Linked DNA regions of Homo sapiens: all the other regions are linked to region 3. Evidence: promoter capture Hi-C in 16 types of primary human blood cells and fetal thymus (Javierre and others, 2016). All regions are on one chromosome and are shown on one strand. The core of a region is centred on a gene start or on the middle of the fragment in contact, and the rest is flanking DNA. Distances in the headings are between cores, read along the strand shown. Region 1 overlaps NECAB1 (N-terminal EF-hand calcium binding protein 1). Region 2 overlaps NECAB1 (N-terminal EF-hand calcium binding protein 1). Region 3 holds the start of OSGIN2 (oxidative stress induced growth inhibitor family member 2). Region 4 has its middle 12 kb from the start of PIP4P2. Region 5 overlaps PIP4P2 (phosphatidylinositol-4,5-bisphosphate 4-phosphatase 2). Region 6 overlaps PIP4P2 (phosphatidylinositol-4,5-bisphosphate 4-phosphatase 2).

The links. Contacts are between HindIII fragments. The CHiCAGO score rates a contact against its expected background, and 5 or more counts as called.
Region 1: a fragment that was not itself captured here is called in contact with the fragment with the promoter of OSGIN2 in region 3 in 1 of 17 cell types (total B cells); the score reaches 5.4 in total B cells.
Region 2: a contact is called between a fragment that was not itself captured here and the fragment with the promoter of OSGIN2 in region 3, in 1 of 17 cell types (naive CD8 T cells). The highest score is 6.4, in naive CD8 T cells.
Region 4: a contact is called between a fragment that was not itself captured here and the fragment with the promoter of OSGIN2 in region 3, in 7 of 17 cell types (M0 macrophages, non-activated CD4 T cells, neutrophils and 4 more). The highest score is 10.4, in M0 macrophages.
Region 5: a contact is called between a fragment that was not itself captured here and the fragment with the promoter of OSGIN2 in region 3, in 2 of 17 cell types (neutrophils and monocytes). The highest score is 8.2, in neutrophils.
Region 6: a fragment that was not itself captured here is called in contact with the fragment with the promoter of OSGIN2 in region 3 in 2 of 17 cell types (neutrophils and non-activated CD4 T cells); the score reaches 7.4 in neutrophils.

Annotation. Positions count from the first base shown.
Region 1 is chr8:90,930,869-90,935,069 of GRCh38, forward strand. It overlaps NECAB1 (N-terminal EF-hand calcium binding protein 1), which reads left to right. Exons shown (of 13, transcript NM_022351.5): 9 at 3,436-3,489. The region is part of intron 1 of LOC105375634 (a long non-coding RNA gene); the gene reads right to left. Among named protein-coding and RNA genes, the nearest start is that of C8orf88, 52 kb to the right of the region's middle. The HindIII fragment of the contact is 4,109 bases long and covers 1-4,097 here.
Region 2 is chr8:90,951,110-90,955,825 of GRCh38, forward strand. It overlaps NECAB1 (N-terminal EF-hand calcium binding protein 1), which reads left to right. Exons shown (of 13, transcript NM_022351.5): 12 at 4-95; 13 at 4,378-4,716. The coding sequence ends at 4,403. LOC105375634 (a long non-coding RNA gene) reads right to left here and starts at 8. Exons shown (of 3, transcript XR_928396.3): 1 at 1-8. The HindIII fragment of the contact is 498 bases long and covers 1,260-1,757 here.
Region 3 is chr8:89,900,411-89,904,636 of GRCh38, forward strand. OSGIN2 (oxidative stress induced growth inhibitor family member 2) reads left to right here and starts at 2,160. Exons shown (of 6, transcript NM_001126111.3): 1 at 2,160-2,427. The coding sequence starts at 2,384. LOC124901974 (a long non-coding RNA gene) reads right to left here and starts at 1,996. Exons shown (of 2, transcript XR_007061001.1): 1 at 1,609-1,996. It also overlaps the pseudogene RNU6-925P. RefSeq lists enhancers at 39-804, 805-1,570 and silencers at 1,864-2,162, 1,912-2,251, 2,282-2,731, 3,725-3,784. The HindIII fragment of the contact is 4,461 bases long and covers 1-3,631 here.
Region 4 is chr8:91,050,417-91,054,755 of GRCh38, forward strand. No RefSeq gene overlaps it. Among named protein-coding and RNA genes, the nearest start is that of PIP4P2, 12 kb to the left of the region's middle. The HindIII fragment of the contact is 4,163 bases long and covers 482-4,339 here.
Region 5 is chr8:91,000,383-91,005,243 of GRCh38, forward strand. The region is part of intron 5 of PIP4P2 (phosphatidylinositol-4,5-bisphosphate 4-phosphatase 2); the gene reads right to left. Among named protein-coding and RNA genes, the nearest start is that of C8orf88, 18 kb to the left of the region's middle. The HindIII fragment of the contact is 7,791 bases long and covers 1-4,861 here.
Region 6 is chr8:91,020,421-91,024,636 of GRCh38, forward strand. PIP4P2 (phosphatidylinositol-4,5-bisphosphate 4-phosphatase 2) reads right to left here. Exons shown (of 7, transcript NM_018710.3): 2 at 836-984. Among named protein-coding and RNA genes, the nearest start is that of PIP4P2, 18 kb to the right of the region's middle. The HindIII fragment of the contact is 3,484 bases long and covers 879-4,216 here.

The DNA of each region.
Region 1 (4,201 bases), core at 793-3,292, 1.0 Mb after region 3:
CATAAGGATTCATTTGCTAAATAAGTCCAGATTCATTTAAAAATACAAATACCTCTTTTTAAAGTGGTTTTGAATTTTTGGACAAAACTGTCTTTATTTGGTATCTGAAATTTTTATAGTTATTTTTAAAGGAATGGCTCAAACTTATGCCTTTTTTTCTAACTTTAAATCAAAGTATGTGACATTTCTTTTTTTTCTAGACTTTTTTTCTCCCTCCCTTCCTATAAAAGGGTTTCATTTTGAGGACAGTGTATAAGAGGTTTGCTAAAAGTACAATGTGATGGTTTTCAGCATGGGGCTCCAGCTGTGTGGAGCTCAGTGTGAGCTGTCTTAATGAATGGAGAAGCAGTGCAAGTTCAGTTTTCTTCTACAACTTATTCTGTACTGTGCTGATTAGGTTTTTAGAGAAAAACTACCCAATTGCCAAACAGTGGCTGAGTACGTCATTTCACTGCTGAGTACCTTGTCTCCTGTAGTTGTTAACACTAGTTTTGATCTTCCCATTAGAAGGAAGTGTACCTGCAGTGGAACATATGTTATCTTTTCTCTGCATTAAGTATTTAAGATAAATTCTTCCTGCACTGAAACCAAGCCCTATTCTATGCATGTAGGGGAATATAACACTTAGCAATTTCTATAAATAGGTTTCTTTAGGTATTCCTTGTATCCATTTCAGCCTCCATGAGAATTTATGGGAATATACTGAGGTTATGTCTTGTGTTTTGCTTGATCCCTGTAGAAAACACCTTTAATGGCTGGGTGCAGTGGCTCACGCCTGTAATCCCGGCACTTTGGGAGGCTGAGGCAAGTGGATCACCTGAGGTCAGGAGTTCGAGACCAGCCTGGCCAACATGGCAAAACCCCATCTCTACTAAAAATACAAAAATTAACCAGGCGTGGTGGTGTGCGCCTGTAATCCCAGCTACTTGGGAGGCTGAGGCAGGAGAATCGCTTGAACCCCGGAGGGAGAGGTGGCAGTGAGCCGAGATCGTGCCACTTCACTCCAGCCTGAGCGAAAGAGTAAAACTCCATCTCAAAAAAATAAAATAAAATAAAATAAACAAAAATAAAAAACAAAAAAAAACCCCACCTTTAATGTTAAACAAAATAACAACAAGGACAACAATAAAAGCTCTTCATTCTTCATTAAGTCCTTAGTGTATCATCAGATCACAGGACATTCTCATTTGAAAGGATGTAATTCAGGATGTCACACTCATACAACTTATTTTAAGTTTTTCATACCTTAGATCAGGAAAGGTAGAACTGAAATTGTACCTTAGTTAGTGTCAGGGAAATAGTGGTCAAGGAGATTACTAGGCTACAGTTTCTATCTGTGGAGTACTTTTTAGTTTTCAATTCACATCTGTATACATTACATATAATTTTGCCCTCATAGAAAAGCTATGATTTAGACAGGGCATTCATTCAGCCATTCATTTATTCTACATTTATTGAGTACCTACTGTGTGTCAGGTACTATTCCAGCAGTGGAAATACAGCAGTGATGAAAAGAATATCCTTGGTCTTTGAAGAGACAGACCAAAAAAACAACAAATCCATGAAACAAGATAATATAAAATAATGGAAAGTGCTATAAAGAAAAAGTAGAGCAATATAATACAGATAGGGGGTTGAAAACTCCAAATGAGTGGTCTGGAAGTTCTCTCTAATAAGGTGATATTCGAGTTGAGATGTGAAAGTCAAGAAGAAGGCAGCTATGTAAAGATTTAGGGATAGAGAATTTACAGCAAAGCAGGAAAAGTGAACCCCACAGAAGTTAAATACCTTGCCGAAAGTTCCACCACAAAATAACAGCACAGCTAGAGCAACATAGCTCTATTATTAACAGGCATATGTTATTTCAGATAGTCTGGATTTCTACAGTTTTCAGTTTACTTCTTATTTATTTGAAGGAGTTATTCTACATAATCCTCATTGGAAACAATGCTAGGATAGCCATTCACAGAATGAAGTTCTCAGAGATGAAGCACTAGGTTTCACTGGGGACATTAGGACATTAGCATTATTCATTGGTCATCACAGAAGACATTAAGGTCTTAATTCTCAAAAGAAGATATATAAAGGGCCAACAAACTATGAAAAAATGCTCAACATCACCAATGATCAGGGAAATGTAAATCAAAACCACAATGTGATACTACCTTACTCCTGCAAGAAAGGCCATAATAAAAAAATTAAAAAATAATAGATGTTGGCATGGATGTGGTGAACAGGGAACACTTCTACACTGCTGGTGGGAATGTAAACAAGTACAACCACTATGGAAAATAGTGTGGAGATTCCTTAAAGAACTAGAAGTAGAACTACCATTTGATCCAGCAATTCCACTACTGGGTATCTACCCAGAGGAAAAGAAGTCATTATACAAAAAAGAACTTGCACACACATGTTTATAGCAGCACAATTTTCAGTTGCAAAAATGTGGAACCAACCCAAATGCCCGCCAATCAATGAGTGGATAAAGAAATTATGGTGTGTATGTACGATGGAATACTACTCAGCCATAAAAAGGAATGAATTAATGGCATTTGTAGCAACCTGGATGGGACTGGAGACTATTATTCCAAGTGAAGTAACTCAGGAATGGACAACCAACCATTCTATATTCTCACTCATAAGTGGGAGCTAAGCTATGAGGATGCAAAGGCATAAGAATGACACAGTAGACTTTGGGGACTCAGGAGAAAAGGGTGGTAGGGAGATGAGGGATAAAAGACTACAAATCGGGTTCAGTGTATACTGTTCAGGTGACGGGTGCACCAACATCTCACAAATCACCACTCAAGAACTTACCTGTACAAGCAAATACCACCTGTTCCCCAAAAACCTATGGAAATAAAAAAAAAAACTTTTTTTTAAGACTTCACGGTCTTTATAGGAGTTCTTCACTTTTAGCAAATGTCAATCGTATTTTCATTTACTCTTTAATTCACTTTCTATTTAATAAAGAAAAATTAACACCAGGGTATAAATGTATTGTAACAATAGACTAATGTTTATAATGATGTCCCAAGAAATGTAGAAATGTGGCAATACTCATTCATAGCAAAATAAAGCAGACTGTTAGGCTTAGTCATTCTGTTTCCTTTTCTTTCGTTTACCTTCCTACCCTTTCCCTCTCTGTTTTAATGTACCTTTCTCTTCCACTTTGCTCTCTAATGGCATTCAAGAAGTAAATTTAAAGCAATACTTTGAACACGTCTAAAACAGCTTCTTACAATTGATAAATAAGTACAAAGAGTCTTTATTGGAACAGCTGAGTTTTAAAAAAATCAGTATTATTTCATCTTTAAGATAATGAAGTTCTTTTGGTTCAATGTTAGCCATGAGAGAACTATGATTTGAATATATGGCATTGTTTTAAATGATATAATTTTTTTTCTTTTCTGCCATTTCTTCCTCTTATTGAAGGATCTCAAACTCGAACCACCAGAAGAAGAAATTATTGAAGGGAATACTAAATCTGTAAGTATTTTTATCAGGTAAAAATGTTAGAAATATATTCTTTAAAAACATAATTTAATTTCTTCAAAAATTAGTTATCTCAATGAAAAATTGAAAAACCAAGTAGTCGTATTTCATTTTATAAGATTCAGTAGTGTTGTTTCTACATTGTGATTTGTGTAAACCTAATACCTACTTCACAGTTTTTGCAAAAGTACCTGGCATGTAATAGGTGCAAAATGAAAATTTTATACATGTATAAATCAATGAGTTATTGAATAATTGAAGGAATATGACTGGCAGAGAAGGGCAACATTTAAGTTGTATCATAAACATTTTGTAAATCCTGCTATGTTGTACACTGGATATACCTGAGCGGAAACCTGGTTCTGTTCATTATTATATTTCCAGCATTTAGCCTAGGGCCAGGCACATTGAAAATGCTCAGAAATAATTTTTCAAAGAATAAATTGATGCAAAAGGGAACATTTGTATCCCTAGGGACAAGATGTCCATCCAGAGTGGCAGCAGTTTTTGGAAACAGAAGAAGAATGGACAAAGGGATCCTAAAAAGTACATTAAGATGCAACAAAAAGAAGTTAGCAAATAATTAAAAGCAGTACATACCAAGCTTTATTATTTACTTTATGTTGAGGCAAACATGCATAGTACATTTTGTTTCAGGAAGTTGGATGTTTATATTTACATTTAGTGAAAATTTGGATTTTAAAAT
Region 2 (4,716 bases), core at 259-2,758, 1.1 Mb after region 3:
CAGCCACCTTCAGACAAATTATAGCAAGACATTCCAAAGAAGTAATGTGGATTTCTTGGAAACTCCAGAACTCACATCTACAATGCTAGTTCCTGGTAATTATCCTGGGTTTACAATGCTTCTGTGTCCTTTTGTATTTTTGTTTGTTTGTTTCGTAAAAGATAGTATGCTCTTTCCTTCTATATTTTATCAATGGTACTCTCTTATTTATTTCTTTATATATTTTATGATTTGAGATTGGGGGGAAGAAATAAAAGATCTATATATTTGTTCTATTTTGTCCTTAGTTGACCCTATTTGTATTCCCAGCTATACTGAACCATTAGTCATTTGCTAATCATATTAACAAACTTGAAGTACCACCAAATCATATTTCAAAAAATTATTCAAATATTTTATCATATTGTAATTTAGTGTACTGGATACAATTTGTTCATCTACCCATCCAATTACTGATTAAATATATATTTACTGAGTATTAATATGTGCTAGGCATCAGGGTGTTTAGCCTAATTTACTGGTACTGATTGAGCTCCATTTCTGAACAAGCACTGTGTTGGGAGCTACAAAGGGTACAAACTAAAGGCAAAATCCCTACCCATAAAGTGCTTTCTGTCCAGCTTCACAGAAACGTTTGCAAAGACAAATTTTAGCAGAAAAAAAAAACCCAGCTAAGGGAATAAAATAGCTGTCACCATTAGAGATAATATGTGTTTTGTGGACTTGGAGAAGTGATTACTTCTTTAATAGTTTTTAAGAAAATGACTTGAGCTAGTCCTTAAAAGATGAGATGTGGAAAAGTAAAGATGGAGAGGAAGGGTCCTTTGGTAAATTTGGACATGAACAAATGCAAGAAGTGTGAATGTGCTTTATAGGTGCAAAGGTGTCACTAAGGCATAAAACTTACAGTACAAGTGGAGACAGACGAGAGAGTAAGAAGTGAGGTTGAGAATGTCATAATGAGGCTTTTGAACAGCAACCTGGAGTAATTTAAAGTTTTGAAAGGGATGGTGACATGTTCTAATCAGTAATAACTGACAGGAGGGAGAAAGGTGGATGTCATGGAGAGGAGAGAGATTAACCAATTAGGGCAATAATCTAGGCCAGGGAAGAAAAAAAAAAAAACCTGCACCAGGAAATAGCCAGAGTTTGGGACTCCAGTTGCAGATGTAATTTTCAGGAGTTAACCACAGCAAGATGATTGTTGAAGCCTGGGATTGGTAAGAAAGTATGTAGGTAAGAACAAAATATCTAAGAGAAGCTTGGGGAGATGCCTTTCTTTAAGCAGTGGAGTATCAAGGAAACCAAAAGAGTAAAATGCAAAGATACAGTGCTCCTGGGGATGAGTGGGGGATGTATAGTGTTATGATGTTATAAATGGGAGGAAGGCTGGGCGCGGTGGCTCACGCCTGTAATCCCAGCACTTTGGGAGGCTGAGGTGGGCGGATCACAAGGCCAGGAGCTCGAAACCAGCCTGACCAACATGGTGAAACCCCACCTCTACTAAAAATACAAAAAGTAGCTGGGCATGGTGGGGCATGCCTGTAATCCTAGCTGCTCAGGAGGCTGAGGCAGGAGAATTGCTTGAACCCAGGAGGCGGAGGGTTGCAGTGAGCCAAGATCGCACCACTGCACTCCAGACTGGGCGACAGAGCGAGACTCCATGTCAAAAAACAATAATAATAAAATTAAAATAAAATAAAATAAAATAGGGAGAAAAATCTTAGAATACAACTTCTGTAAATATGACTGCTGCAAGCTTTGTACATAGAATGCAGGAAAGTGAGATCCACATTTTATTTATCTTCACATTCCCTACCCTATTACAGTATTACTATAGTACAGTATATGGCAAGAAGAAATTATTTCCTAAATGAAGGAATGAATAGGACTTTGGCATCATCATAAATATATTGGTCTTCGGTCAAAATTTCCACGAAGTCCTGACACTTGTAATTTTTGTGTCTGTCATCACACCCATTTCCATCTCTCCCAAACCAATGTGGAAAGAAAGGAACAAAGCTTGTTCTTATTAGTGTCTTGAGTCTTTCCAGGACAGAAACAACCTGATCAAAAATAGAGTAGGAAAAGAGGATAGAACAGGAGGCTACTGAATTATCAGTGAGGGGGAAAATGCTATAGCAAGAATTGAAAATGTGGACTAATCTGATAGTTTTCTGACCCAACTTTATCATTATCTGGAATTATTTTCTAGACACTACTAGTGTCATTGGCACATATATTACTCTTTCTCTCTCAGAGCATTTCCTAATTTAGAAAGAAAAACTGACTACAGATAAAACTGGATCAATTCTTGTTCTGTGAATCCAGGCTCAATACAATTTAATGTCTTTTAATTGCTGCCCTATTTTGTATTAATTTCATGTTACATTTAATTTCAACAATGATTACTGGAATTTCGTAGAACAAGAGGAAAAGTTAGGCTTGATTTTTGACACAATTTTAAAACCTACAACATTTTGACATTTATTGGGACATCCCACCTTATTTTAAAGTTTTATCACTGTGACAGCAGGCCTATTCCAGTAAGCAGAAGCTAGCATATAAATATTATTTATGGGTTTTAATGGCCATATAACTTCTAACACTATTTTTAAAAACCAGTTTTGTACATTTTGTGTTATAATGGTTATGAAGATTAAAAATAAAAATAATTAGCTGGGCGCTATGGCTCACGCCTGTAATCCCAGCACTTTGGGAGGCGAAGGTGGGCAGATGACCTGAGGACAGGAGATCGAGACCAGTGGCCAATATGGTGAAATCCTCTCTTTACTAAAAAATACAAAAAATTAGCCAGGCATGGTGGTGCATACCTGTAATCCCAGCTACTTGGTAGGCTGATGCAGGAGACTCACTTGAACCTGGGAGGCAGAGGTTGCAGTGAACTGAGTTCGTGCCAGTGCACTCCAGCCTGGGTGACAGAACGAGACTGTCTCAAAATAAATAAATAAATAAATAAATAAATAAATAAATAAATAAATAAATAGCTGCACATATTTATACCTAAAATTAAAATCTGAAAGAAAAAAAGCAGATATTACATTTAAAAATGCAGTATGAATAAGTTTGTATTTCTAATTTTACTCACAAATTATGATTTCTGGTAAGATTGCTTTTTATGGTTAAGACTACTAAGTGGTTTACCTAAGATACATCTAAAGTAATTAAGCAACTAAGCCAGATTGCATCCAGATATGAAAATATACACTATAATATATTCCAATGACCTCTCAAGTATAAAATCATTCAAATGAAGCATACTGGAATATGGCAGCCCAAACCACCCAGACAAAAGGAGTATATAAACTTGGTCTGTGGAGCAGAATGTCCATTGGTAATAACAGAAAAACCTACGGTTATGGGAAAACAGGATACAAAAAAAAAGATCCTATTGCCAGCAAATTACTTGAACAGTTTTGAAAGCAAATTTCAATCCTTTCCATTTATCTGTTTCTTACAGCATTCCACCAATCATACATCTTTGCCATTGGTTTGTTTTCAGGATATCTATATTCACTGGGATAAACATTTATAATTTTAACATACAGATATACTAAAATATTATTTATAACCTACTTGCTTATACCCAATATTTATGAGATCCTATGTGTATAAATATATGGTATTTATAAATATCATATAGGTATAAATATATGTATAATAAATCACACATGTATTTATATGTATATTATATATTATACATAAGCTGCATATATTTATAAATATATGTATACATATGCATATATGTATATTATGTGTATGCATATGCATATATGTATGTGTATACAAATGCATATGTATTATATGTATACATACATGTATACATATTATATGTATATATTATGTGTGTACATATATGTATGTATATGTACACATATGCATATATGTATATACATATATAAATGCAGGTGCATGTATGTACATATGTATAAATATATGGTATTTCTACATATAGGATTTCATAAATATTGGGTATATAAATTATATATATATATATATATATATATATATATATATATGGCCTAACTACTGCCAGTGTTGGGTAGATTCTAATAAGAACAATAGCATGATTCTGTCTTCAGTGCATTTATAAACTTGTTGCCAAAACAAGTTCTATTCACATAGAACAGAAAATTTTAGACTGCAACAAAGTGCCAAAAGGTATGGTACAAATAACAAGTGCATAGGAAGAGTTCAATCTTGCCTCAAATAGTCAGGAAATGGTGACTAGAAAGATAAGTTATTATGCAGACTAAAGGTAAGGGGAATGGTCTCTTTAGAAATAATTTGCACCTTGAATGTTCTTTGCCCTATAAGTTATTTTCATTATTTTAGAAAACATTTTTCTCTTTTCAGCTTCGTGGTGGATCCTGAACAACTAGATGTTCCTAGACATTTTCTTTATGGTTCCAAGTGCAAAACAGGTGTTCTTATCTAAAACGTCAATTAGAAAATTATCTGCGGTTGTTAATCTACTGTATATTTTTGTTTGGTATATTTACTAAGTGCACTCTTTCAAAACTTATTCTATAACTTTATCAATTCATGTGAATTTTAGCTCAATTTTCAAAGTTCACTAATATTCTCAATATTTAATGCTAAATGCTTTGCTACATTGTAACTCACCTAAAACCTTTTAGTGACAAAATCCTAATATGTGGAAAAAAGCATATGCATAAAGGAATAATATTGTGA
Region 3 (4,226 bases), core at 910-3,409:
ACAGCACGAGAGTGACTAGTCAACGATAATTCATTGAACATTTTAAAATAACTAAGTATAATTAGATTGTTTGTAGCACAAAGAAAGGATAAATATTTGAGGTGATGGATACTCCATGTACCCTGATGTGATTATTACTTATTGTATGCCTGTATCAAAATCTCATGTACCCCATAAATATATATACCATGTACTCACAAAAAATAAAAATTAAAAATTAAAAGAATTATCTGGATTGGACTGGCATAGCTTTCAGGAATTTATATGTTTATTTTTAATTTTTTTGGTTACATAGTAGGTGTATATATTTAAAAATACGGAACGCTTCACGAATTTGCGTGTTATCCTTGGGAAGGGGCCATGCTAATCTTTATATTATTCTAATTTTAGTATATGTGCTGCAGAATTAAGCACTGCTTTTAGGAATGTAGGTACTTTATTTATTTATTTTTGAGACGGAGTCTCGCTCTGTCGCCCAGGCTGGAGTGCAGTGGCGCGATCTTAGCTCACTGCAAGCTCCGCCTCCCGGGTTCACGCCATTCACCATGGTCTCGATCTCCTGACCTCGTGATCTGCCCGTCTCGGCCTCCCAAAGTGCTGGGATAACAAGCGTGAGCCACCGCGCCCGGCCAGGTACTTTATTATTATTTTTTGATACGGAGTCTCACTCTTTGGCCCAGGCTGAGTGCAGTGGCGCGATCTCAGCTCACTGCAACCTCCGCCTCCCGGTTTCAAGCGATTCTCCTGCATCAGGCTCTTGAGTAGCTGGGATTACAGGCGCGTGCCACCACGCCCGGGGCTAGGTTTTGTATTTTTAGTAGAAACGGGTTTCACCATGTTGGTCAGGCTGGTCTGGAACTTCTGACCTCAGGTGATCCGTCCGCCTCGGCCTTCCAAAAGGAATTTAGGTACTTTAAAATGCTGTTATGTATGTTAACGGAAAAGTAACTACATGCTTCATTTTCAGAACCAACATTCAAATGAAATGAACGTGTCAAATCGACAAAAGCTCAAAAAAGAGAAAAACATATAATACTTAAAAGTGGTTAATATACTCTTAGATTGCATAACTCTGGGGCAGTCTGAGTCCTATGATTTTCTTTTAAGACCCCAAGACTCTAAAATACCTGCTCATCACAAGTTTGTTCAGTGACAACATTCAGTAAAACTTAACATTTGTTTTACAAAATTATGTTGAAAGATATAAACATAAACGTATATTTGAAGCACAAAAATAATTACGGCTTTTTTTGGAAGCGGAGTTAGACATTTCCGTAGAAAAGTAGATGCAATCAATCTCTCCTGATTTTTGTCCTCCCCACCTTTAATTTTTGACAAACCGAATAACGACACTCACTATTGAGTACTTTTCTAACTCCCTATTGCATCACAAACGCCCGCAGGGGCTTAAAAAGCAGCAGGGGTTCCTGCCCTTCCCCACACTGGCCGGTGTGGTCTGGGGCGGGCCTGATGAGCACCTGGATTTTCACCCGGCGTGCTGGTAATTCCTACACTTGTGGGTGTTTGAGAGACATGAAGAGGGGAGGATGACCTCTTCCCGGAAGCGGGACTTCCATAAAAGAAGCGTGGTGGGCGGGTCCCGGGCACCTGTGGTTTGGTGAGTCCTCCAGGTAACTGTGATGCGGGGGTCAGCGGGAGAGGCACCCGGAAGCTCCCGGCGTCTGCACCCCGGCAGCGCGAGGAAATGCCCAAAGGTGGGTTCTCAGGCGTGGGAAGCTCGACCCTTCCCGGGGTCCTCGGCGAAGTGGCCGAGGCCGCGCCTTACGCAGGGAACTCCGCCGGGCCATCTGGGTGGCCCGAGTTCGCAGCAGCTTCTCTTCCGCTCGTCCCTCGGCCCTCTCGACGCGCACCCACCGGCCTCACCAAGTCGCACGCAGAGGGGCGGCGGGGCGCTGACCGAGGTCTAGGTCTCGATTGCCGCCGGTCGAGCCGCGCAGTTTGCCTGCAGACCTCGGTCCCCTGCCCGCGCAGCCTCGGCTCCATCAGGCCCGGCCCCTCGCCCGGGCCGTGGCTCCACCAATCGCAGACTTCGCCCGCCGCAGCCGCACCTGCGAGGAGGGGCCCGCGCGCCGCTGCAGCCGCCGTCGCAGCGTCCCCGCCCCGCTCCGCCCCTATCGCGGCGCCCCGAGATCACCCGCCTCCGGCGCCTGGCTCCCTGCAGGCGAGGAGCGGAAGCCGCTATCTGGAGGCGGACTCCGGCGCCACAGAGCCGGGGCAGCCGCGGCAACGGCGAGGCGCGAGGCAGGGGCGCCCGGCAGACCCCGCGACCCCGAGCCAGCGGGCGCCCCGAGCGGGCAGCCTCGCCGGGGGAGGCGGAGGCGGCCACGGCGGCCGCGCTCGGGCGCCCCTCGCGCAGCGCTCCATGCCCGTGTGGTGCTGCCGCTGCTCCCTGGCCGGTCATTTCAGGTGACTTCCTCGCCGGGGATGGGAGGGGAGCAGGCGGGGATGCCGCGCTCTCGAGCTTTTTGGCCTGGCCCGGGCCGGGACCGGGGTGGAGGGCGAGCGCCTGGACCGCAGCGTCCTCCCGCCTCGGCCGTCCTGCCTGGCGTGGGGGTGGGGTGGGGTGCGGTGTGGTGGGGTCCTTGCTCCGGGGAGCCCTGCGCTGTTCCCTTTTCTCGCTCTGGACCGCGCGGGTCACGGGACTGCGGGATCGGCTAGGCCGGACTGAGTCGGTTACGGCGAGCTGAGACTTCCCAGTAGTGCAAAGTTTTAGTGAAGGGGGTTCTACGAAGTGCCTGCCTCCCTAAAAAAAAATTATTTCTTAAAAAGTCTTCTAAATAATGTAATGAGTGGAAGGAAGGTAGGGAACTACATTTCAGTGTCATCTAATCACAAATAGATTCTGCCTTGTTAAGATGTTAGCCATGGTAAGACGTGTGTGTTGTAGAAATTTAAAGAATGAGGCGGTTTTACAATCACCTTATGGGGAAAGGTTTTAGGGGTGATAAAATATAATACATTTCTAAAATAAAAGTATGTTTTCTAGATCTAGCACATTTGGTCAACACCTCAGTCATTGGTGGAAAGACCAGACACTAGAAACTGATTTTAACCCTGGGGTGAAGAATGGTTAAGCATAGGGAATACTTTAGTACCTTGCTTTACATATACTGATGTTCCAGAATAATTCTATGTAAGACTTCTTCCCTGGTAAAATATGAAATTTTGATCAAGCCTTCCTAAATAGTGGGTTTCATACAATTTAGGTAACCCATGAACTTGGATGGAAAGAAAGGTATATCATTTCACTAAATTTTAAAAACTAATATTCAGTTAAAATATAAGCAACAAATCACAGTAGTATCTGTGACTGTCATCAGTAGAGATCATAAAATATGTTTATATCACATTGCAGTTAATATAGAAATACTGTTTATACTTATTCAAAATTATAGTAACACATCACTGAATTTATTGAATGCAACAGAGAAGCACATATATATATCGCGTTTACTTTTTATGACTGTTTTAATAGAATTAGTTTTCTTGTAAATCCTGTGTATATTTAAGAACAGTATTCAGAGAAGAGGTTAAGAAGCGTCATCCTATAGTAAAAGAGATGTAAGGCATAGAGAAAGTTTGGAACTTCTTTTGTAACAGCGATAATCCAAGCTTGTCTAACCTCTCAGTGAGTTTAGAATGAGTCTCTAGGTTGTGGATATTAAGGAAAAATTGTTTCATATAATAAACTGCTTGATTTTAACTTTTAGGCAAATTTGTTGACTACTGAGACAGCGGTTTGAAGGTATCAGATTCACTATGGAAACTTTTAGGAAATAGGTTCCCCTAGTGAAACTTGTTAAACTAAATAAAGCCCATGAGAATCTAACATGCCTTTCAGAAAATATTGTGTGAAAGCTATTTGACACCTTTTGATGCACAGTGTAGGATTCATATTCTTTTGACTAATACTGGGTGTTGAATACCATTTGCTTCCTGCCGTGCACAGAAATTTGGAGTAGGGAGTGAAAACAAAGTATTTGCTATGTTTTGGTCTGGAGGGACAGAAAGAAAAACAAGCTAGCTGCCAAAGATAAACATTATGATTAATAAACCACACTTTTTATTGCAAAAACAGTTCTGTTGTGTCTAAAGTATTTTTTTTTTTAGTTGTTTACCAGCTCCTTCAGGAATATGTTTCTGATTTACCAGTGCTATTTCTCGAGCAGTTTCAGGTCAGTTCAGGTCATCCTGGCCAACATGGT
Region 4 (4,339 bases), core at 1,313-3,812, 1.2 Mb after region 3:
AAACAGTTTTTAAAAAGTGAGTTCTTTTTCTTCATTAAAACATTTATTTAACCTTTGAACAGTGTATTTTTCCTACTAACAAAATTTGGTTTTGATGTATTATTCTTATCACTTAATCGCTTTGCTAGTGTTTCCAAATTAATGATCTCAACTAGAATAGTATTCCAAAAGGTTATTAGTTTAACTCAGTATATTCTCAGGATCTTTGGATAAATCTTAAAAAGAAAGCCTAGGAAAAAGCAATATTAGTTGAGGTGATGCAAAATAGGTTTAGTGACTGTTTGCTTTTTTAATAAACAGGGTAAATATACCTGAGACTGAATTGTGTGCCCCTCCCCTTGCCATTCACACGTTAAAGCCTAATCTGCAATGTGACTATATTTGGAGACAGGACATTTAGGAGGTAATTAAGGTTAATGAGGTTATAAGAATAGGGCCCTAATCTGGTAGAATGAATGTTCTTAGAAGAAGAGACACAAAAAGCTTGTTCACTCGCTCGCTGTCTGCACAAGCATGCATCATGGAAAGGCCACCAGCAACTTGGGAAGAAAACTGTCACCAAAAACCAAACCCTGCTGGACATAGATCTTGGGCTTGGAGCCTCCAGAACTGTGGGAAAATTAATTTCTGATCTTTAAACTATGCAGTCTGTGGTATTATTTTGTAGCAGCCCTAGCTGACCAATGACCAATGTAATCTGCAAATAATAAGATTACTTTAAAAAAAATCCATTTAGCCCTTGGACACACACACACACACACACACACACACACACACACTTACTTCACAGAGAAATCTATTTGAGACCATAGAATTAGTTGATACATGTAAAAGTAACTTTAGGATGAGAAACTTCCCTTTCCGATGGTTTCAGAAACCAATTGGGTAAGAAACGTAACTATTATCTGTTTGGAAATTGGTATTTCCAGCACTTCCTCCAGTGAGATACAGAATCACATTCTCATTTATTTTATGCTTTTGATTCCATCTTGTCTGACTGTATGGCCTTTAAGTCAACCATCCCAGTTTATTTAACCAGTCTCCTATTTTTCAATGTTTCAGAATTTTTATAATATTTTACTATTCATTCATTTGGCAAATGTTTACTGAGCACCTTCTAGGTGCCTGGCACTATTTTAAGGGACACAAAATTCCTGACATCACAACACAGGAAGATAAGCAAAATTCAATTTACCAAGGATGTATATCAGATGGAGATAAATATTATTGAAGGAAATAGGAAAGGTGGGTGGAGGGAGCACATTGCTTTTTACATGGAGGGAATAGGATCAGCTTCACAGACAGTGAAGCAGAAATGTGGACGGTCAACAGCAAAGCCCTGAAGAGGAAGCATGCTTGGTTCGTGTAGGAACAGCAATGAAGTCTGTGTAGCCCGATGAAAGGGAGCAAGGAGAGAAGGGGTAGAAAGTAGATATTAGACCAGAGAAGTTTGTCATGGACTGCGATGGGGTAGATCACATGGGGCCAGTTGGGCTTTTCCTCTGAGATGAGAAAACTATAGAGCTCTTAAAGGCTTTTGAAGAGTGACCTTATTTGACATAAGTTTTAAAAGGATTACAATGACTACTATGTGAAAATCGGATTATAGGTAACAAAGGAGTGGAGGTTGAAAGAGGGATCAGATTCTGGACATATTATGAAGCTAGATCTAACATGATTTGCTCATCGATGTGATGTAGAATATGAAAGACAGAAATCTTTGAATACTTTTCTGATTATTTATTCTTGATAATTTTTTTGAATTGGAAGCCTAGATCAAAGACTATACCCATTTAAAAGTCTTTCAGATATATACTGTCAAATTGTCCTCTGAAACCTGAAAAAACATTTTTACACATTTTTTTTTGAAACAGCGTCTGAGACTATTTCTCAGCAGCATAGGAAAATAACATGGTATTATCATTATTTTTAATATTGACAGTTTAATAGGGAAATATGTTTTTGTATCTTAGTTTTATCCTTAATGATTCTGAATATTTAATATTTTTATTGGTCAATGGTATTGGCCATTTTTTTTCCACTAGGGAGTTCATCTATTTATCATTTAATATTTTTAATTATAATTCTTATTTAAAATTTTACTTACTTATTTATAAAATCCATTCTCTTTTCCTCCTGGAAACCCAGATAAGCTACATTTCTCAGCCATTCTTGCACTTAGGGGTAGTCATATGTCCAAATTCTGGGTAGTGGAACATCAGTGGAAGTGATGTAGACTACTTGTAGACCATGTAGGCCATGAAAACCTTCCTTGTATGATCCTCCACACTCTTTTCTACTCAAAGCTAAGTGGAAAGAAAGAACCCCAAAGGAGCCCACAGGAGTCACATGGTGAAAATGGCACAAGAAGGGAGGATCTTGGCAAACTAAATCACTACTTATAGGAGAGTTGCCCACTAAGAACACCGGTTTTGAAGTGTTGTAAGAAATATACTTTATTGTGTTAAGTCACTGAGATTTCAGGGTTTATCAATTACAGCAGCAGGTGTATTTCCTAACTATTAAAGAAATATATAGAAAGAATTGTAAGAATTTCTTTACCTTCATTAATTAAATATGTGGACCTTTTGCTCCATGGAGAAATGTAAAACTTTCTTCTTTGACTGGACACTGATCTATGTTTCCTGGTACTGAGAGACTGACCCACTCCTTTTACTTCCTTCTTTAAGCGAACAGTTCCAAGAACAGAAGGTAATGGAGTCAAACAGGTCAAATCACTCTGACTCTCACTCTCATGTTCTCTCTCACAGATACCTCTTGTCTAAAGGATTGCAATACCTTCTGACCAAAGCAGACAAACTGGCAACATTGTTAATTTGTCATAGAAAGCCTCTTTGTTTCCTGTTTTCCAGAAAATACTCTCTTTGGATATTCTCCCTGCTGCAACACCCTGTATGAAGTGCCCAACACCTGCAGTCTCAGACAACTTTTGAAAGTTATAAACCTGTAATAAATAAGGCGAATATTTTTTCCTAGTTTGTAGTTTCTCTTTCAATGTTTGCTGTGTTTAAAACATTCTTACTGTCTATGTGGTGTCTCTGTATATAATCTTTCTTTAGATTCTCTGTGATTTACAGCCCATGAAATGTCAAACTGTCTTCTTTTCTGATAGAATTCCTGTCCTCATTCTTTCTTGCTTCATGTTAAGCCCAGAGTACATGATACTCTTAAATTAAATGGCATTCAGATGTGTGCCATTCTACTCATTGTTCTTTCACCTTTAGTGAAAGTGTGGGTAGAGTGTTGTTTCCCACTTGGTTCCTCTCACACCTATTGAACATTCACGCTGAAGGCCGCTCTCCCTCTTTGGTCATCTGACACTTGATATGCCTCATGTCACTCAGTCTTTCTGAGGGATACCGCCTTGTTTGCCTGGACAGTTTGTTACCAGCCTCACTTGTCACATATTCTCACTGATCTCACCGATCACCCTAGCCACATTAGTCAACACTAACTAGTCAGACTAGCTAAACTGATCCTACTCAGCTGTCTCTAACAGTGGCCTGCATAATGGGTGGGGATTTTAATTTACCAATTACATATATATATATATATATATATGTATTATATACATTAGGAAGATGTAGTAGTTGCCGATGGCTGCCATAACGACTTACCCACAAACTTAGTGTCTTAAAACAATGCAAATTTGTCTTATAATTCTGAAGGTCAGAAGTCCAAAATGGTTAACCTTGGTCACTGGGTTAAAATCAAGCAGTCAGGAATTCTGCATTCCTTTGTGGGATATCTAGTGGGGAATCCATTTTCTTACTTTTTCTGGCCTCAAGAGACCATTAGCATTCCTTACCTCCTGGCTGACTCCCTCCTCCATCTTCAAAGCCAACAATGAAGCATCTTCAAATCTCTGACTCTGACTCTCTTGCTTTCTCATTTCACTTATAAGGACCCTTGTGATTATTTACATGGATAATCCAAGAAAACCTTTTCATCTCAGTATCTTTAACTTAATCTCATCTGCAAAGTCCCTTTTGCCACATGCTGTGGTTTGAATGTGTCCCCCAAAATTCATATGCTAAAATTTAATCACCAATGTGATGGTATTTCAGAGGTGACTCAGTCATGGGGGCAGAGTCCTCATGAATGGGATTAGGGCCCTTATAAAAGGGTTAGAGAGAGTGGGTTCATCCCTTTTTTGCCCTTTGGTTCCATCTGCCACATAAGGACATAGCATCCATTCCCTTCAGAGGATGCTGTAACAGGGCGCTATCTTGCAAGCAGAGAATGACCCTCACTGGGCACCGATTTGGCTGGCACCTTGATCTTGGACTTTACAGCATCCAAAACTGTGAGAAATAAA
Region 5 (4,861 bases), core at 481-2,980, 1.1 Mb after region 3:
AGTTCATCATTTAGCAGTTTTTTTTTTTTTTAGTAAGGGTACCAGGATGGTAGATACCCTGGGTTTTGTTTGTAAGTTTGTTGGTTTTGCTTTTGAAAATATACTTATTTTACCTTCATTATTCTTTGATGGTTTAGATAGGTGTATAATACCAGTTTGACAGTTAATTTCTCTTAGTATTTTTGATGTATTTTAAAACTTGTTTTCTGGCTTCTATTTTTGCTGTTGAGACATTTGCTGACAGAACTGTTATCTTTTTCTTATTGAAAATATGCCTTTTGTCTCTCTGCTTTTAATTACCTTCTATTTCTCTTAGGTTTTCTACAATTTCACTGTAACACATTTACTTATCCTGCTTGGATTTCATTGTTCTTTTTGAATATAAAAATTCATATCTTTCATAGATCTGAAAATTATTTGAGATTATCTCCTAAAATGCCATATCCCATTCTTTATTTGTTCCTTCCAGATCAGATATATAATTGGCATCTTAATAATATATTTTCTCTTAATCTTACATTCATCTTTGTCTCTCTATGCTAGATTCTGGGTAATTCACTTACCTCTATCTTCCAATTCACAACTTTAGTCTTCACCTTTAGCTGATCTGTTCTTTAAACCGTACGTGCATTTTAATTTCTGTAATAATTTCTAGAAGTTCTATTGTTTCTTTCTATATCTATCTGGTTATTTTTTGCAAATTTCTATTTGAGACAATTATAGATTCACAAGCAGTTGTAATAAATAACACATAAAAATACCATGTACGTTTTGCCCTATTTCCCCCATAGTAAATCTTGCAAATTATAATACAATATTATAAACAGGATATTAACATTCATATAATCCACCAATATTCAGATTTCTCAGGTATATGAGTATGGATTTTTCTTTAATTTTATGCAATTTTATCACGTTTAGGTTCATGTATCTATTGCCACAGCTAAAATAGAGAACAGTCTATCACTGTAAGGATCCTTTTATAACCACACCCTCCTTTCTGCCCATCCCGCACCCTGTGCCTGCCACACCATCATTAATCTGTTCCCTATTTCTACAATTTTGTCATTTGAAAAATGTTACATAAATGAAATCTTACTGCAGGTAACCTTGTATGGCTAAGTTTTTTTTTTTACTCAGCATAAATTCAATTCATCCAAGCTGTTGCATGTGTCAAATTTGCTACAAACACTCACATATACATTTCTGTGAGTACCTGGTAATTTTTAAATAGTCTTACATGTTTTCTCTTATTTTTATTTTAAAACATCTTAGGCATAGTTTTAACATACTCCATATTTAATAATTATAAATCTGAAGTTTTTAGAGGTCTAATTATGCTGTTTGTTGTCAATGTTGATTATGCTTCTGGAATCTTGTTTTCTCCTATGACTAGTAACTTTTGTTGAAAACTTATTTTGGCAGATCTCAATATAAAAAAATTTTGGCATGCATAGTTTGGGGGTGCTTTCCTACATACAGAACTTTCATTTGCTTTTCGCAGGCTCCCTAGACTGATACTAACCCTAAACTTTAAGTCAGTTTCTGGAACTAGGTTTTCCTAGATCGCATAAGTGATATAAAAATATAAACCTAAATTCACTGTTCTTATAAATTTTTTCCTCTGCAATCTTCCTTTTCTGGTTGATTTCTTTTTCCTAACTCACTCTTTTCCAGGGGAAGAGTACTTTAAGTACTTTATTGGGAGGAGGCAGTATTCTAACCCCGCTACCTTGTGTGAGGCCAATGCCTTCTCTCTCATTCTTCCAAGGCTGTAGATCCCTAGTGTTGGCATATACCTTCAGGATAGTCCTGGTTGTCACTTAATCTTCATTTTTGGTCCCCAACTGTCATATGAGCTGAGCTATGCATTTAAAAGGATGATTTTTACAGCTAATTGGTTTTTTATATTACTGCATGTGAAAGTCAAGGGCATATACAAAAATGTGGACAGTGAATCTCCAAGCTGAAAAGACCATTCAATGCTCTCAAACATCTAACTATTCACTCTTCAAATTATTAATCTTTCGCTTCACAAAAACACCTTATGAAACACTAGGATTATGAAGAACACCTGGAAAATGGTAGTGTAGCTAGTGCTACAGGAATTTATAAGGGGAAAAGGCGGCAAACAATGTTCTTTACATTACAATTTTCAGACAAGGCAGCCAGGGATGGCTTTATTACACAAGACTTAAGGATAGCTTAAAATGTGAATAGATGGGGGAGTAAGTCATTTCAGCTGATTACATTAGAATTGTTCAGGTGTGAAAAGAAAATTTGTTCAAGGAATAAGCAGCAGAATAACCTTTGTGCCACAGAATGTTTCTACAGATGAAGAGTAGAAGCAAGGGATGTTTCAGCTAATTTTTTAGGTTAAATAGGTGTTTTCTAGGTAGACAAGGGCAAGGAAAGGAGTAGCCAGGCCATTCTAGGTCTAGCAGGATAAGACTCAGGAACAGAAGAAAGAAACTGCATAATATGTTTGTGGAAGTAGAAGTGCAATTTGTTGGGGCTAGGAAATAACTAGGTTGTGTGTGTAGAGACAGAAGAAAACAAAGATATCCCTAGAAAAGTTAGGCAAAGACTAAAAGAAGTTTGGAGTTTGATTTTGGATTTTAGGCAATGGGCTGATAGTAAACCATATGGTACATTTATGCCAATAAGTAAAAGAAGTCCTCAGAATAATTTATATGAAACTAAATATACAAACCTAAAATAACAATGGAAATTGTACCTCTTCGGGTTGTGCAGCATACAACTTGCACAACTGTATGCCATGGCTAAGAAATTGGGAGCCACTAAAAGATTTGATGCCAGAGAATCTAAAATGACGTATGCATTTAGGAACTACCACTCTAGTAAATGAATAGATAATTGCAGTATTGGAGGTCAAGAGATAAATTAGAAAACCAATGCAATAGTCCTGGTGAGAGATGCTGAATACATGAACTGAAGTAGAAATCATGAGAATAAGAGGACAGAATTAAAATGTCAAGGGACATAATTGATAGGATATTACCATTTAAATATGGAGAATGATAAAAAATACACTAATATTTCTTGGTTGGTCAGTTGGACAGACAGGATAACATTCATTAAAATAATATATTCTTTTTCTAGAAATAATGTAGGGGGTGAAAAAGAAAAACATAATATATTTATCAATACACATGGGAGATTGGTTTGCAGAGTAAGGTGGGAATGCTGGGTCAGGTTGTGCTTGAAATGACCATGAGATATCAAGTTGAAATAATTCTAGGCTAGATAGTGAATAGAGATAGTATATTTAAATCTGAAGCTCCAAAGAAATATCTGGGGTCATTTAATGGCATCTAAATGACATAGGAACATAAGAGAAAACCCGGATAAAGTGCGGTCAAGTTCCAACTTTGGAAAATAGCAAAATTTAACAACTTGGAAGAGAAAGTAAAGCCAACAAAGAAGAGTTGTGAGAAGTAGGAGAAACCCAGGAGAAAGCAGTATCTGGAAACCAAGAAAACAAACTTTAAGGAAAAGAAACCATTGTATTAGTCAGGGTTCTCCAGAAAGCCAGAACCAACAGGAGATAGATAGATAGATAGATAGATAGATAGATAGATAGATAGATAGATAGATAGATAGATAGATGAAATAGATAAGAGGCAATTTATCAAGGAAATTGGCTACTGTGATTATAGAGGCTGAGAAGTCTTGCAACAGGGGATCTGTAAGAGTCCCTGGACTGTTGGCAGTGTGGCTCAGTCTAAGTCCAAAAGCCTCAGAATCAGGGAAGCCAATGGCGTAATTCTCAGTCTGAGGAGGAAGGTCTGCGGAGCTGAGGGACCACTGGTGTACGTCCCAGAGTCCAAAGGTCAGAGGGCCTGGAGTTCTGATGTTCAAGGGCAGGAAAAGAGTGTCCAAGTTCCAGAAGAGTGAAAATTGCCTTTCCACTGCTTTTTTTTTTTCTATTGGGCCCCCAGCGAATTGGATGGTGTCCACTCACATTGAGGGCAGATCTTCTCCATTCAGTCCACTGTCTCCTCTAGAAACACCCTCTCACACATATCCAGAAGTAATGCTTTACCATTTCTTTAGACATTCCTTAATCCAGTCAAGTTGACACCTAAAATTAATCAGCACACCCAGGATGATCAATAGTATCAAATGCTACAGAGAAAACAAGCAGGATGAGAATCAAAATATGGAATTTATTATTGGGATGTGAATTTCATTAGAGCAAATTCAGTGGCCCACTGGGGATGGATAGCTAATTGTGCCTTATTCCAAAGAGAATGGGGTGCAATAATCAAATGAAGGTATAAGCCTTGGAAAGAAGAGACATGCATCCCTCTGAGAAGAGGAAATGAAGTGAGCATGGATAAAGACAGGTTTACGAGTATGAAATACAAAAATGAGAGAATTCACAGATAGCCTCAATTATTTCAGAGATAGGAGGCAATTCATTGGATGAGACCTGGAGAGTTGGGGGTACTGAGGTGGGGGTTTAGGAGGAATAGTAGATATCTGGAGATAGCTGTTTTGGGAAATGGGAAGTCAATCAAGGACACTTAGGAATATAGATCAATTTAGATAAATTACAAATCTATACATTTGTAAAGAACTGAATACAGAATTTTTTCAACTCTCAGTTATCTTGGTGAAGGAAGGGAGAAGCCATGGCTATATTGATCCAAGATTGCTGCTTTGAAAAGCAGATAGATGGAATGATGATTAACCAATCTAGCAAACCTACTATTCTATATCTAATATGTTGAAAATGAATTTATCATCTTCTGCCAGACACATTTCTTCTAGATCCTGCATGTCCTGTCTCAGTGAATGGTTCTACAGCCTCTCAGAAATAGGGTCATTCTTGATC
Region 6 (4,216 bases), core at 1,371-3,870, 1.1 Mb after region 3:
GAAGTCAAGTATTCATGTTTTGTGGTCCTTCAAGACACAATAATCACTGGCTGACTTTTTTTAGTCTTTTCTAAAGAGAAAAAAATAAAACATCAAAGATAAAATTAATATTTAATTGCAGATTTTGAGAGATCAAAATGTAATATATAAAGCCTAACTATGAAAGAAATATATTTCATCTAAACCAGTGTATGCTTTACCAGTTTATTACTTGAAGCTATAAAAATACTGCTGAAAATTTAGTTGCTCCCCAAAGCTCAATTTTTAAAAAAGGAAAGGTGTTATTCAATATTTTAAACATTCCTAAATTACTATCAACTAAATTGAATAAAATGTCAAACTATTTGTAAACACTTTGGCACAGATGCTAATAATAAATGCATAATCACAAAAGCCCAGAAAAACAATAGTGACATCCTACAGACATAAAATAACTTCAAATAATTTTCCACATAAATAGGGCAAAGTTTACATCTGTAATGAAGTTTAGTACACAATATTTTCATTTTAATGAAAACAAGAATGAATGTAGTTGTGATGTGGATAGATATTGAAAGTATTTATACGTAACTGCCATGCTCAGTCTAGTTTTTGAAAGTAAAAAGCCAAAAGGCATTATATTTAAATTCACCATGAAATTCTCTTAATGGGGTTAGCTTTAAACACAGTGAGGTATCCTATGATGAAAGAGAGACAGAAGAAAAGACAGGAAAAAAGATTACCATATTTGTATCCAGCCCACATATACTTTTAAGTAACATTATTGAAGTACTTCCTTTAGGAATAAAATGTCAAATAACAATTTATATTTTTTCTAATGGAAATCTCCACTTACCGTAGCTTCATTGCAAACTGTGCACTTAACCACATGCTGGTGAAGCTTGCCATCCAAATTGATTAGTGATTGGCACACACGGCAGTTTATTACTGGAATACCACTGGCGTCTGGACTGGCAATGGCTGTATATGGAGGTGGGAGCTCCGCTGAAAAGATATTAGTCACTGAATCAGAGTCTTGGAGAAATTACTATGGCTGGTTTGAGTATAGAGGCAATATAAGTAAAGAAGAAACAATCAAGATTTTCCCACGTTCTTTTATTTATTTTTCAAAGCTAGCCAATTTATCTTACTTTTAGAGCACAAACATCCATGAGACTCTTATCAAGTAAAATAATTCTTAACTCTGATAAAATCTAAATCATGTTTGCCTAGGTCTATCCCAATAACCCAGTTTCCTTTTACTAATCTATACTCAAAATGTCACTCCATTCCTATTAGTAAATTCATACAGTCTCTAACAGGAGAGTGGTAATTTATGCCTACAATAAAAATTTTACACAAGTGATCTGATTCCCAGGAAATAAAAATGGTCGATGAAAGCAAAGTTTTAAAATTGCTTATCCATACATATAAATTATGTAGCTGTCATGCTCTGTCTTTATATTGGAACCAGTATAATGACTGCTGGCTATGACAAGAATAAAACAAGGTGTTGGAGGAAGTCAAGAAGAAACAAAAATGAACCTAAGAAAACTAAACTTCTCAGCATGGAACAAAAATGGGAACCATGCTAATTTCAGACACAAAACAAAAATAAAGTAAATATAACAATTTTTAGTCTCAAAATTTACCTACCATTAAAAATGTAAGAAATGCACCAAAGTGTTTATGAGTAAAAAAATGTAGTATGTGGGATTAAAAACTTCAAAAACCATAACAACAACCACCACAAAAAGAATGGGGAACCAGATGAAACAAGTAGCAAAATGTTGATAACTGATGAATATAATGACATGGAAGGTCATAGTTTCACACTACTTTTGTGTATGTTTGAAAATTCCCATAATACAAAGACACACACACAGTGTTTTTTTTGAGAGTCCTAAGGTTGACTCAGTGAGTGAGTGAAGGGTGGAGGCCCACTTTCAAAATCAAGTATCTACCAGAAGTGTATATTTGTTACAAAAGTCTGAGAAAAGGAATCCTGATATACTACTCTGGAATGGGATTTCTAAAGGAGACTGCCTAACCCCTTTCTGTAACTATCTCAACTACAGGAATAGAAGACTTTTCCAAGGTAAAGTTTTGTCTTGGGACATTTAGAAAGGGCCACACTCTAACATATGATTGAAGCACGAAAGAGAACTGGTATCTCAAGAGGCTTCTGTAACACTATAAAATATAATCACAATAGCTAAGCATAATAAGAGCTATTTTTGAAATAAAGGTTTTCTATCCACTGTATTAGGTCCTAAACTTTGTGATATTTTAAAAAGAATTAGAGCATAAAACATTTTGGTATGTTTAAAATACACATATTTCTACCTGATCCTTGGGTTATAATATAGGATTTTTTTCAGACTGCTAAGGATTAGCAACAAGTGGTATTCGTTCAAATGATTCATAAGACAAATTTCTGCAGCAGCCAAGGCTCTGAAAGAGGCCACTTTGAAATGACGATATGCTTATGTTTCTGGGAGGCTTATAACAGAACACTGCCAAACACTGAAATTCAAAAGAAGCTGTACATGTCTTAAATTATAAAAATAATTTTAAATCCATGAAAAGAATTTGAGCGTGATCCAGAGTGACCTGTAATGTATTAATCAAGAAGAAAAAAACATGTTAAAGAAACAATGAGTCAACAATATACTTAAGGTCTTGCAATTTGCAGATTACTTTGTCAGATCTCAATAAAGACATTATTCTTGGGGAAAGAATATGTACCTCACTAGAAATTCAAGACACACTGCCTGGTATATGATAATGAATATTATTTTAATAATTATTTGCAGTAGCATTATTAACAAAAGTTGCTTCCTCTCTGGCCTTTTCCTTGAGTTGTACAGTAACATTACATAGTTCTCTCGTAATCCCAGGTCTCTATCTTACACAGTATGATAGAAAGGAAACTTAAATGCAAGACAGTTTTATAAAGAAAACAAGGGCATTAGGGGGAGAGGAGGAAGTGACATATTGCTACACTACATAAAAGGACACCAACCCATACACTCCTCAGCTTTGCTCAAAGAAATCTCCTAAGAAAATTTCAGAGGGTGATCTTAACAATCATTAAAAGGGCATTAGAGCCAGTAAAACCCTGTGAATTTTTCTTCTAAGATTTGTACTATATAATTTTTAATCTGCCAAAAAAAAAACGCCTTCAATGACAGAAATATGCTCAAATCTACTCTTTTGGAGGCTTGGGAAGTGGAGGGACATGGACAGAACAAGCAGTGAAGATTATAAATCTAATATAAGAGAGACCATAAGCTCCACGAGGCCAGGGGCACATCTGGTTTGTCCACAGCTACTTCACCAGCGCTTGTCATAATGCCTGGTCTATGATGATGCTTACTAAATGTTTATTCAATGGTTGAATTAATTAATAAATCAGCGAGTCACTAAAATTTATTAGACATATCTATTTGTCTTGGAAAAATAACACCAAGTATTAGGTTGCTGCAAAAGTAACTGCGGTTTTTGCTACGACTTTCAAATAGCAAAAACCGCAATTACTTTTGCACCAACCTAATACATTAACCCTACTCTCCTTGCAGAGGAGCTAAGGTTCTAGCAGGGGAGTGCAGCTTGATGGAAAACAAGGGCTTCTTTTATATAGAAGACAACTCTCTCCAAATAATGCACTGAGAGAGGTGAAGTAGTCAGGGGACACTGGCCTGGCCCACCAGATAAATGGAATCAATCCAAGAGATCAATAGAATGACAGATGCTGCAGCCTAATTGCCACAATAAACAGTGCTTCCTGGCCTTTCATTTCAATGTTCTATCCATTACTTCAGCCTTAAACTGATTTAGACAGATTATTTCTTGTACTTTTGGCCTTTCCCTTTCTCTCAGATTTTACCTCAAGGAAACATTTACTTGTAGCTCCATCTCCTCTTATATGGGACTTGTAATTCTGGAGATTCCACAGTTAGTAAACCTACAATAATTAGAATAAGATTATTAATTTAAATGATTAATAATTGGATTATTATAGATTAAACCTATAATAATTAAATTAACTTAGATTTATTCATTTTGTCTCTTTTCACTTTGGCATAATCATAGCTCAATACAGTCTTGAACTCCTGGGCTTAAGTGATCTTCTCACCTCAGCTTCCTCGGTAGCTGGGAATACAGGCATGCACCACCATGCCTATATTTTCACTTTAAAACAACCGATCACCAGTATCCTACCTATTTTAAATTT